4 separate regions of the Homo sapiens genome follow, and regions 1, 3 and 4 are each linked to region 2. Evidence: promoter capture Hi-C in 16 types of primary human blood cells and fetal thymus (Javierre and others, 2016). All regions are on one chromosome and are shown on one strand. The core of a region is centred on a gene start or on the middle of the fragment in contact, and the rest is flanking DNA. Distances in the headings are between cores, read along the strand shown. Region 1 overlaps ZFR (zinc finger RNA binding protein). Region 2 holds the start of ZFR (zinc finger RNA binding protein). Region 3 has its middle 53 kb from the start of ZFR. Region 4 overlaps ZFR (zinc finger RNA binding protein).

Region 1 (2,923 bases), core at 345-2,844, 37 kb after region 2:
GGTAAACTGACCATTTCTAGACTAAGATCTCTGGAAATTTGGTAGACTGCCTATTCACCATATTTCAGTTAAATTTCCTTATTCCTGTAAGTGGTAATGGATGGGCAAAGAGTGATATAAAGCTTGAGAGAGATTCCTAGTTGACAGAAAAGCACAGAAGAACTGCTTACAGAGAATTAAACTTTTTGGTCTCTCAAATGCAGACTGCAATACTGAAAGACTTAGGACCCCCTAACTCCAATATGTCTGTACACATAGGGAAGGAAAAATAAATTGGAATGGTGAGAGCTAAAATGCGTGGAAAACCAGACATATCCAGGAGAAAAGTAGTCAGGCAACTTTTGAGAAAAGCCTTCTTAGACTTTTATGTTAGGCTACTATAGTATATAAAGTTTTAAGATAGAAAGTGTGATAATAGACAAGAAAACATCTGAAATGAAAATAGAAACAGGTAGCTGTATATCAGTGATAAAGCATGTATATGATCAGATAAAATTGAGAAAACAGTTGAGATAATTGCTTAAAACAAAATTTCTATAAACTAATAAACTCTACTGGGCAGTCCTACAAACGTCCTCTATTACTTACGAATGTGATAAAAGAACACAAGCTCACAGCCAAATGTTTTCAAGCTTACAGGCAAAAACATGTATAGTTTAAATTTTACTGTAGAGAAATGCCATAAAATTGTCCAGTTACCAATAATGAAGATGTTTTTAGATTTATTACCAAGTAGGATCATGATTTTTACATAATATCTTTATAACAGATATTTTCCAAATGACTTCAGTTCTTCTATATAGAAACTATACAAATGCCACAGAAATGTAACTTTATGAATTATCTATTAAGAAAATATGAAGCAGAATAAGGACAACAGAGGCCAACAGTGCTGAAAGAATAGTTCTTCTAGTTTTTTTTTTTTTTTTTTTTTTTTAATCAAACGTTCACAATACAGGAAGCAGTATGCCAGACACAGTGTAGTTTTTAGAACAGATCTATAAGGTAAGTATCACTATCCTTAAATATGAGAAAAATTAGGTTTAGAAATTGCAGTATCCTTTAAACACTGATCAAATTTAACCATAAAAATCACCAAGTTAAGCTTAATATTCATAAAATAATCTCTACTTGCACATAGGTAGTGTAAAACTAATAAAAGGCAAGTTTAGTTATAACTTACTACTTAGTTATAAAAATAAAGCATGCACTGAAAGGTGGGCTAAAGATTCTGGAACTCTGTTAAAGGGCATCTTAAATTCTCCTATAACTACTGGCAAACAAATGTACATTTCTTATAAAAAGCATTGTAGGAAAACAGATACAAGGCTGTGTCTGTGTCTGGCCTAGGCAACGTGGCGAAACCCCGTCTCCACGTTCACAGATTAAAAATCTGTAAATCACTGAACATAAGCAACATGTATATATTATATAAACAGCTTGCATAATGTACTTATTCACTGGAGTCTCTGAACAATGGAAATGGGTAGAATTCATACATTTAACCAGAAAACACAATGCTTTTTCATCTTTTGGAAGATGAGAACCAATGTATTGGTCCCTAATTCCTAAATCTTTAACAGTTGTTCTATATTTTCATCTGAACTTCAGTTCCACATCACAAACTTCTGCTAAACTTTATTTACCTTGCCTCCCCAGACTAGCATCTGTCAGCTTCTTGATTCTAGCAGTTGCACAGCCCATCAGTTGATCACTGGGGCTCCAGATTTTAGTGTCACATTTGTATGTTTTCCTCTTCTTTTATCTCTTTTGTCCTCTTAGCTACCAAGCATGTCAAATCTTACTTTCATGAGTTTTTGTTTTTCCTATCTAGTATCCTACTTCAGATTCTTCCTCAAATCCAACACTTCCTAAATTTTGTTCACAGGATTTTATTTGGGGACATATTAGCAGATTCTATAAACAGACAAGTTTGTCAAACACACTATCACATCTCTCCAATTAAACTATAAGGTTCTTCAAGGCAGGGACCAAATTTTACACTGTCTTTATACCTCTATAACACCTGGCATATATTGAGTAAATACTAGTTGATGACTTTCTTAGAAGGAAAATAAGCTTTTTTCTGGTTCTGTGAGATATACGTTTGTAAATATGCACATGTAAATCTATCTTTATTGGCAGGATTAATTTAATTTAAATTTGTAAATTTTAACTTGTCCTTCTATAAGTATGTAACATAATTTTTGTTTGATTTTTATTTGTAAGGTACGTCTTATTCAGGTTATGAAGCAGCAGTGTATTCAGCTGCATCTTCCTACTATCAACAGCAGCAGCAGCAACAGAAGCAGGCAGCAGCAGCAGCTGCTGCTGCTGCTGCAACAGCTGCCTGGACAGGGACCACCTTTACTAAAAAAGCACCATTCCAAAATAAACAACTGAAACCAAAACAGCCTCCCAAACCACCACAGATTCACTATTGTGATGTTTGTAAGATCAGCTGTGCTGGACCACAGGTACTTACGTTGTATGTTTTACCTTGAGTCTTCAGTGGTTATTAAGTGTAGTTGGTATTCTAACTCCTGAGCCTACTAAAAGAGGTTTACATTTTTTCCTGTTAGCTTTTAGCCAGTGCATTTTTTAAGTTACTTGTATTGTGGCATGAGAATTTTCAGGGAAAAAAAAACTGTAAAGATGATTGTGACTGTAAATGATAAATAGGCAAATTGAGCTTTTTTTTCCGGAAAGAGACTTTGTTCTTTAAAACTTAAATTTAGTTTTAAAATTTTGTAGTCAAATTAATTGCGACTTGGGTAAGATTGAATTTTTATTTCGTTGTGTTTTTAGCATCTGTAACTTACTTGCCAAAGCCTTTATTCAAAATTCTTTAACTTAATATAGCAGGTTACTGATAATCTATAATTTTCAGGATTGCATTTCTAATGAGACTGACTTTGATATA
Region 2 (2,982 bases), core at 232-2,731:
AACCTCTGCTTCCAGGGTTCAAGCGATTCTCCTGCCTCAGCCTTCTGAGTGGCTGGGACTACAGGCGCCCGCCACCACGCCCGGCTTTTTTTTTTTTTCTTTTTTTTTGAGACGGGGTTTCACCATGTTGGCCACTGACCTCACCTCGTGATCCACCCGCCTCGGCCGCCCAAAGTGTTGGGATTACAGGCGTGAGCCACCGCGCCCGGCCAGCATTTCCTTTTAATGTTCATATCCAACAATGAGGAGAGATGAGGAGCAGGGAGTCTGGGGGATGGGCATGGAGAAGGTAAGGAAGAGGTGAAATGCAGGCAGTACATATGTACTTGATGGAAGACACGAAACATAAGGCCAGAGAAACTAGACGATCAGAAGAGGGACTGGAAGAGGAAAGAGAATGGTTGAAAACGAACTGAGAAACTAAAGGGAAGAAAGCGAGGAAACAGAGGGAAAGAGGAAATGCTTACATGGGGGCAAGTACTGTTCTGTCCTTACCACTAAAGATCTGGCACGTGATCTGGTCTCCCTCTCACTTGACTCCAGCCAGACTGATCTTCTTGCTCTTGAACATTCATTCCTTCATCTGGACCCTTCCACTTGCTGCTCTTCCTGCAGGCATCTCCCAGGCCTGTCCTTCCTTCCTTCAAGTGGTCTCCCTAACCACACTCTACATGAAATAGCACCTCCCTTACCCTTATTTTCCTTACTCTGCTTTATTTATGCTTGAAGCTCCAGTCACCATCAGACAGAATTTCTGTGTTTTGGCTACCGGCTGTTGGCTGACATATACCCGCTCCTAGAACGTAAACTCCACGGGAACAGGGACTTTGTTTTGTTCTCTGCCGTATCTCCAGCACCTACAACACTGCCTGACACCCTGCTGGGTGACCGATATACGCCGGATGGCTCAGGGAGTGGGTGCAGGTCGAGGAAAGGGTATAGCAAGAGGTATGTCCGGGAGGGATGTTTAGGGTGTGCTTTTAGTCCAACAGAAAAGCACTCTCCATCCTTTTTCTATTTCTCTCCTCTCCTTCTCCCTCCCTCCGCACTTCAGAGGTTGGGGAAAAGCTGCGGGAAAGCAGGAAATAAGGAAAAATCCTAAATTGCCCAGCTCGAATTCCAATGAAAAATTAATGAGCGAGGAAGACAGGGAGGCAGGGAATAAGTGCACATGCAAAAGTTAAGGAAGCCAGTGGAAAGCAAAGAAAAAGGCGAACAGACGTCACTCTCTCTGGTCACGCTCCCCGACTCCCCAGAGGACAGGCGAGGCGCTTCTGGCACACGCCCCCGTCGCCCCGCGGCCGCGCGGCGTCACCACCACTTCGGAGAAGGCCAGGCCCCTCTTCCCCCGCGGGCTTCCCCGCGCCCGCACCGCCGAGGCCCCGGCACGCGCCCGGGGGAGCCGCGAAGACGGCGGGGACTACAGCTCCCAGGATGCCGAGCACAGGCGCGCCTGCGCAGTGCGGTCGGAGGCGGCGGTCTGTTCTCCGCTGAGGAGGAGCGGGGCAGAGGAGGGAGGCAGCGGGTGAGAGTTCAGAGTTCAGCAGCAGCAGCCCGAGCCCATGATTCCCATATGCCCTGTAGTTTCTTTCACCTATGGTGAGTCTAATGTGGCCCGCGAGGCCTCTGCCCGGCCCCCTCCCTGGCCCCGGGCAGCGGGGAGCCGCGGGGGTTGGGGCAGGCTCCGGGGAGGAGGCGGCGGCCGCCACCCGGGCGTGCGAGTGAGTGAGGGAGTGCGAGGCGGGAGGGGGAGGCGGCGCGGCCGCGGCCTGGGCCCCGCCAGGGCTGCTCTCACGGCGCCTCTCTCTTTCTCTCCCTGCCCTCCCTCGGCGTCTCGGCTCCTCTGTGTCTCTTGTCCCGCCATGGGACCCGACTCTTCGTGCCCGCCGCAGTGCCCAGCCGGCTGGGGGAAGATGCCAAAATGGCGACCGGCAACTACTTTGGATTCACCCACAGCGGGGCGGCGGCGGCGGCGGCTGCGGCCCAATATAGGTAACGGCATCCTGCCTTCTCTCTGTTCGCCCCTTGCTCTCCCCTCGGTCCGGATCCTGTCGATGCGACGCCCCCGCGCCCGTCCCCAGCCATCCCAGAGCCCCGGCCCGCTGCAGGCCTGGCCCGGCCCAGCCCGGCGGCCTCTCCCGCCCCGCCCCGCCCCGCCCCGCCTTGCCCGGCCCGGCCCGGCCCGCGGCGGGGAGCGGCCCCCAGTAGGGGGGAGGTAGAGACGGCGGAGGTGTAGGGACGTGGAGGCCTCAGGGCCCTTCAGCGGCCCCTTAACTAAAATGGCCTCCTGCGGCCGCCGAGCGGAGCCGCCACCGCCGCCCGGCAGGCCCCCCAGTCCCCGCCTCCGCGCGTCCAGCCCCCACCTCCCATCTTCTTCCCACTTGGGGGATGGAGAGGGTGGCTGAAGGGACCTCACGGGGAGTGCCGTGTCGCAGGTCCACTGGCTTCTCGTGCGACGCCTCTCTGCGTCGTCGCCTGGTGCTTCAACCCCCGGAGCCCAGATAACGTGTCGTTGTCTCGGGTACCTTTTCCTCCGCCGTGGGGCTTCTTCCCCAGACGCTCCATCGCTAGCGAGTCCTGCTGACAAACTGCGGGTGTCACTGTGTTCATCGGGTTCCTTTAGTTTTTCCTGCAAGGAGAGAGATTCACATACCAACCACCTGTAAATTGTGTAGTTCTTAGACTGGAAAAGATGTGCGAAGTTTCTAGTGCTGATAAATGAGTGCCCAGCCTTGTTTGAGCTATGGAGTTTAGGCCCCAGGTGGGCCTGTCATTCTCCTTGCGGGGGTCTTTCCCCTGCGGGGAATGGTGGGGAGGGAAGAAGATGCAAGTGAGATTGTACTGAGTCATTGTAATGCACCGGATGAAATCCCTGCTTTAAGGGAAGCTCTCATTTCTGAAGTCTGTAGTTCATTATACATCTTACCAAAGACAAACACAACAGTGGATTGTTAAATTGTTACTTTTGAGTCAATCTGAGAC
Region 3 (3,017 bases), core at 206-2,705, 53 kb before region 2:
AGTTTATCAGCCTGACGAGGTGAAAGTGAAATGACAGATGTCGGAAATTGGGAAGTAAAAGATGGACAGTTGTGTTGAAGGGAAAGGCAAGCTTTTTTTTTGCTTTCAATAAAGGGAGAAGAAGATACTCCTTGAAATCACTAGAACAAGAGAGATTCCAGTCCATTACTTAATGTTAGAAACCAGTAGAGGAACTAAAAATAATGATATAGCTTTACTGGGACAGGAGTGTGAGCAAGTTAAATCCTTATCTTTGTGAGCAAGTTAAATCCTTATCTTTCACAAGAGGAAGTCAAGAGATAATGTCTAAAGATGATAAACCAGGAAATAGCAAGCAGTGTAAACATAGTATTTAGACACACAGAGGTAATCACTAAACACTGAAACCAAACTGCTGGATGACAGACTGGGCACAGGCATAGGTGGATACCTCTGTAGAATTTAATTTTTTTTTTTATGTCTCTCCACCTTTTCTATTGGGTTCCATGAATAAAAGATTCTTGTTGTTGTTGTTGTTTGTTTGTTTGAGATGGAGTATCACTCTGTTGCCCTGGCTGGAGTGCATGGTGCAATCTCGGCTCACTGCAACCTCTGTCTCCCAGGTTCAAGACATTCTCATGCCTCAGCCTCCCCAGTAGCTAGGAATACAGGTGCGTGCCACCACACCCAGCTAATTTTTGTATTTTTAGTAGGGATGGGGTTTTACCATGTTGGCCAGGCTGGTTTGAACCCCTGACCTCAAGTGATCCACCTGCTTTGGCTTCCCAAAGTGCTGAGATTACAGGTGTGAGCCGCCACGCCCAGCCTGTTTGTTTTTGAGACGGGGGTCTCATCATGTCACCCAGGTGGGAATACAGTGATGCAATCACAGCTCACTGCAGCCTCAAACTCCTGGGCTCAAGCACTCTTCCCACCGCAACCTCCCAATTAGCTAGGACTACAGGCACACGCCACCATACCCCACTAATTTTTTTTTTTGCTGTAGAGATTGGAGGCAGGCGGCAGTCTCGCTTTGTTGGCTAGGCTGGTCTCAAACTCCTAGCCTCAAGGAATCCTTCTGCCTCCCAGAATGATGGGATTACAGGCATGGGACCACCATGCTCGGCCAAGAAAAAGCTTCTTAAGCTTCTTTTCTTCTCTTTATTCCTTGAAAAACTCATCAATCTAGTCCCTTCTTCCCCCAAAAGCACTAATTTTAAGGGTGTTCACCAAAATTAGGGACGTTCAGTGTATCAAACTGTGTAGGGAAAAACTCTCCTGAAACCATGTTTTTCCTCTACTCTCACACCACAACAATCATCAACACAGAAGATTTCTGTGACCAAATATATGGGGCTTTTTCCCCACACACCAAGCAACGGACACCAGGGAGGGTCTTCTCATTCAGTTCCAACCGTGTCTGCCCAGAGATGGTGTCAGATCCCACAAGCTGAGGACTCAGTCCCTAAGACTGCCTCCTGAACCCCCACTAACACACACCAGTTGCAAGGTCGGCCCTCCAGAACCTCTTACTGACCAGCTTCAAGTTGGGGTTCCCATGACCCCCCTATATGGGTTCAATAAATTTGCTGGAGCGGCTTATAGAACTCAGGGAAACACATTTACTGGTTTATTATTAAGGATATAGTAAAGGATACACGAGAAGAGATGCACAGGGTGAGATATTAGGGAAGCGGCGCAGAGTTTCCATGTCCTCCCTAAGCGCCACCCTCCAGGAACCTCCAGGAGCTCAGCTACCCGGAAGTTCACTGATCCATGTCCTCTTGGGTTTTTACAGAAGCTTCATGACATCAACATTCTTTCCCCCATGGTATAGGGTGGGAGCCCTCTCATGGGAGAGTCTTAAGATCCATCACCTGATCAGGCCGGGTGCAGTGGCTCATGCCTGTAATCCCAGCACTTTGTGAGGCAGAGGTGGGCAGGTCACTTGAGGTCAGGAGTTCGAGACCAGTGTGGCCAACGTGGTGAAACCCCCGTCTCTACTAAAAGTAAAAAAATTAGCCTGGGCATGGTGGTGCATGCCTGTAATCCCAGCTACTTGGGAGACTGAGGCAGGAGAATCACTTGAACCCGAGAAGCAGAGGTTGCAGTGAGCTGAGATCGCGCCACTGCACTCCAGAATGGGTGACAGAGTGAGACGTTGTCTCAAAAATAATAACAATAGTGATGAAGGGGGAAGGGGTTAAATATCTGAAACAGTCTAACAGTGCCTGGTACATGGGGGAAATTCATTAAACATTGATCCAGCACATGAACAAGAGGAACAATGTTCTATTCAAGCTGGAAATCCTTGATACCCTTGTTTCTCTTATTCAATTCAACCTACTCCTATTGATTGTACATTTTCCCTCTCTCTTGAATCAGCCCTTTTCTATCTCCAAGGCTTCTTCCCCATCCCAGTTGCCATTATTTCTCACTTGGACCATGCAGTAGCCCATGGCCAGAATTTCTGTGGGCCTGACCTAAACAGCTTCCTCAACCCCTAGACTAAGGCGGAACAAAACTCAGAAGACAAAAAAAGGACAGCCGGGGACCTATGGAGCAGCATATGAGTTCATTACAGCTAACAAATTTAAAACAACAACAACAAAACCCTGTCTTCCACACTAACCATATTGCATGACTTCATCTAGCATGAAGTTAATCCAGGAAAGTGGCTGTTTCATGTCAAAAACAGGAAGACGGGCTCTGAGGCACTTTTGAGAGAGCTCTAATCTTGGATTTTCAGTGTCAGAAATCAGAGGGAGAATAAAATCTATGAAAGAAAGCCGACGGGAGAAACATAAGATCCAAGATGGAAACTGAGCTGGGACTAACAGATCCTCCAAAGAACCCTACAATTTACAAGGTATTATCAATTCTCCAGAGCAGGAGTCCAGTAGGTTTCATGGGTGTGTGACCTGCACAGTTGCACATTTCTGTACAGAGAAGGGCCCTGCACTTAGTTAACATTTTACAGTCAATATCTTGAAATTCTTAATAATTTTCGAATAAGGGCCCAAATCTTTTTATTTTGC
Region 4 (3,083 bases), core at 483-2,982, 63 kb after region 2:
GGGTTGCTGCCAAGACATCGGAAGGATTTTTGACCAAGGTTTTCAAAAGCTCAGTGTCACATCTGCCATTTGATAAAGGAGGGATTTTGGATGCAGAGCCTGGCATTTATTGTCCTTTGTGTGGCTGTTTTGTTTGTTTTGTCTTTGTCTCTTCTAGAATTGAGCAGTGTTCACACTAGTTTTTAAATGGTTGAGTGGGTTATATATTTTACATGACCATGTTAATTTGAATTAATATATTCCCATTAACGTTTAATCTTAAAATAGTGTGGACACAGCATGTCTTCTAATTGGTGATTAACCCCTTAAAATCTATGAAATACATTCACATAGAATAAGAATTAGCATTTTGTTTTTATAAATTAACTGATTTTTTTTTGCTTTGTTAACTGGGTGTTAGGCAACAAGTATGATTTTAGCAGAATATAAGGGGTTAATCTACTTGAAATAGAAAATGGGTACAAAAATCCACACTAAATTTAACAAAAATTTTCTACTTATAGCTGTAATTTGTTTTTAAATTGCAATAGGTATTAGCTGGGCGTGGTGGTGAGTGCCTATAATCCCAGCTACTTGGGAGGCTGAGGCAGGAGAATTGCTTGAACCCAGAAGGTGTAGGTTGCAGTGAGCCGAGATCATGCCATTGCACTCTGGCCTGGGCGACAAGAGTGAAACTCCATCTCAAAGAAAAAAAAATTGCAATAGGTGTCTTGGCATCTTTGAATTTATATCATGAATTACAATTTCCAAAGTTATGAATGCTTATGTGCAAAACAAAATTTTCTTGCATATCGGAGGAAATAAAATTGTGAATTAACATTAGAAATTTAGAAACATTTTAGAGATTGCACATTGTCACCTATTTGCATTCTAGCTTTAGCAAATGTAAGTAAATAAGGGACATAGAAAGAGGTTCTTTAGCATGTTATAATACTGCTTTGGGGAAGTCAGCTTTTTCTTTTTTGTGTGTGTGAGGGGTTTGGTTTTGTTTTGCTTTGTTTTTGAGACAGTCACTCTGTCACCCAGGCTGGAGTGCAGCAGCACAATCTCGGCTCACTGCAACCTCCACCTCCCAGGTTCAAGCAATTCTCATGCCTCAGCCTCCCAAGTAGCTGAGGAGCTGGGACCACAGGCATGTGCCACGACACCCAGCTAATTTTTGTATTTTTGAGTAGGAATGGAGTTTCACCATGTTGGCCGGGCTGGTCTCGAACTCCCTACCTCAGATGATCCACCTGCCTCAGCCTCCCAAAGTGCTAGGATTACAGGCATGAGCCACTGCACCTGGCCCTTTTTTCTTTTTTAAAACTTCATAGTTAGCTGTCTCTTGTGTCCCTTTTCTTTATCTATTCCTGACAGAATAGTTCATTTCTTATGTTCAGGTTATTTCTAGGTTCAATAGTTGGTCTTATAAGTTTTGAGAGAACTAATATTTTTGTCTTGATAACTTCTTTTTAGCACCAAATTCCTCTTTTAGTATTTATTCTCAAAATGTCACACAGTTTTCCTTGATTATCTGTCTTTCCTCTAAATGTGTCTTCTGAAGAATCTGTGTCCATCTGATTACTCGAGGAGTAAAAAACTAAGAAAAAGAAACCTTAGAGAATAGAATTCTCTATCAGTTTCAAAATATGTTTTTTATATGTCATCTACTCAAAATAAGAACAAGTTATCCTTTAAGATATCTGAATGCTTATGAGATATGAGTAACTTGACCAGAACTGCAGCTAGTACTCTTAAGATAATTAACTTTTTCATACTTTTATCATGTATTTTTTCGTCCATATTCATTTTATATATTCGATTATTAAACTGTATTCTAAATGCCCCATAATTTCCAAAGGACTATTATATTTAATAGATTATATAATTTTTCTATATTGAGAAAATATTCATACTATTTAAATCACTGAGAGCTGTGAATTAGATTGGAATAATTGCCATTTGCTTACTAATAGCTTGATTAGCAGATTTGCTGTTAATATACACATTTTACAGATGTTTAGATGGATATAAAGATAGCCCTTTGTCTACTTTTATGAATGATATATTAATGTAAAGTTAACTTCTTGTCCTGGTTTAGTTTCATATATTCTCAAGTTTTGTGTAGCTCATTTATGTTTTAATCAGCTTAAAGACCCTACACATCTATCGTCACAGGATCAGCATCTTTTCCACTCTTAATTCTGTTTAACCATACTAGTTCCTATTCGCTGTTCTGCTTGCCTATTGTTTCTCTTTTATCATTTTTTGAAATACTTTATGGGAACTTTAAATTTTAAAGGGCATTTCATACTCTCTGATAACTAAAATTTTCATGCGGAAGGGAGAGCATTAAACTTTTAGAAATGCCTGTTTTGGGCCGGGCGCAGTGGCTCACGCCTGTAATCCTAGCACTTTGGGAGGCCGAGGCGGGTGTATCACTTGAGGTCAGGAGTTAAAAACCAGCCTGGCCAACATGGTGAAACTTCGTCTCTACTAAAAATACAAAAAATTAGCCTGGTGTGGTGGTGCACACCTGTAATCCCAGCTACTTGGGAGGCTGAGACAGGAGAATCGCTTGAACCCAGGAGGCCGAGGTTGCAGTGATCTGAGATCGTGCACTCCAGCCTGGGGGACAGAGTGACACTCCGTCTCAAAAAAAAAAAAAAAAAAAAAAGAAATGCCTGTTTTGGGTTCTTCATTTTTTTCCTATAACTGTAACTATATTGAGCATTCTATATTTATCATCAGTTCTTTGTTATATTAGCTCCAGAATAACTTACGACCATTTAGAGTACTGAACAAACTCAGTAGTTTATTGTACATACTCATTAAGGTGGATTTTTGTGTTCCCTCTTGTCTTGTTGTCTTTGTGCTAGTGCACTGTGTCCAGTAATCTTTCCTTCGGATTTCGTTTTGGTGGGTAGGGTTTATATTTCCAGAAATTGTTTATTATATTACTAAATTAATAAGTTAACCTTTTGTTCCTCATATTGGATTATGTAAATTTATTGAAAATAACTCCGTGGATATATTAAAGTGCCAACAAGCTCTCAAATGGCTCATGTGACACTGATGCTACCTTAAGGAAGTGTCTTGCT

What was found. The method cuts DNA at HindIII sites, captures the fragments that hold promoters and counts their contacts. A CHiCAGO score of 5 or more calls a contact.
Region 1: a fragment that was not itself captured here is called in contact with the fragment with the promoter of ZFR in region 2 in 9 of 17 cell types (total B cells, activated CD4 T cells, naive B cells and 6 more); the score reaches 9.2 in total B cells.
Region 3: a fragment that was not itself captured here is called in contact with the fragment with the promoter of ZFR in region 2 in 3 of 17 cell types (activated CD4 T cells, total B cells and naive B cells); the score reaches 6.4 in activated CD4 T cells.
Region 4: a contact is called between a fragment that was not itself captured here and the fragment with the promoter of ZFR in region 2, in 2 of 17 cell types (activated CD4 T cells and total B cells). The highest score is 5.4, in activated CD4 T cells.

What each region holds. Positions count from the first base shown.
Region 1 is chr5:32,406,328-32,409,250 of GRCh38, reverse strand. ZFR (zinc finger RNA binding protein) reads left to right here. Exons shown (of 20, transcript NM_016107.5): 6 at 2,230-2,477. Among named protein-coding and RNA genes, the nearest start is that of MIR579, 13 kb to the right of the region's middle. The HindIII fragment of the contact is 974 bases long and covers 1,108-2,081 here.
Region 2 is chr5:32,443,239-32,446,220 of GRCh38, reverse strand. It overlaps ZFR (zinc finger RNA binding protein), which reads left to right and starts at 1,481. Exons shown (of 20, transcript NM_016107.5): 1 at 1,481-1,599; 2 at 1,893-1,992. The coding sequence starts at 1,563. RefSeq lists silencers at 1,179-1,868, 2,099-2,438 and an enhancer at 1,830-2,387. The HindIII fragment of the contact is 7,512 bases long and covers 1-2,982 here.
Region 3 is chr5:32,495,950-32,498,966 of GRCh38, reverse strand. No RefSeq gene overlaps it. Among named protein-coding and RNA genes, the nearest start is that of ZFR, 53 kb to the right of the region's middle. The HindIII fragment of the contact is 655 bases long and covers 1,128-1,782 here.
Region 4 is chr5:32,380,227-32,383,309 of GRCh38, reverse strand. The region is part of intron 15 of ZFR (zinc finger RNA binding protein); the gene reads left to right. Among named protein-coding and RNA genes, the nearest start is that of MIR579, 13 kb to the left of the region's middle. The HindIII fragment of the contact is 3,735 bases long and covers 1-3,083 here.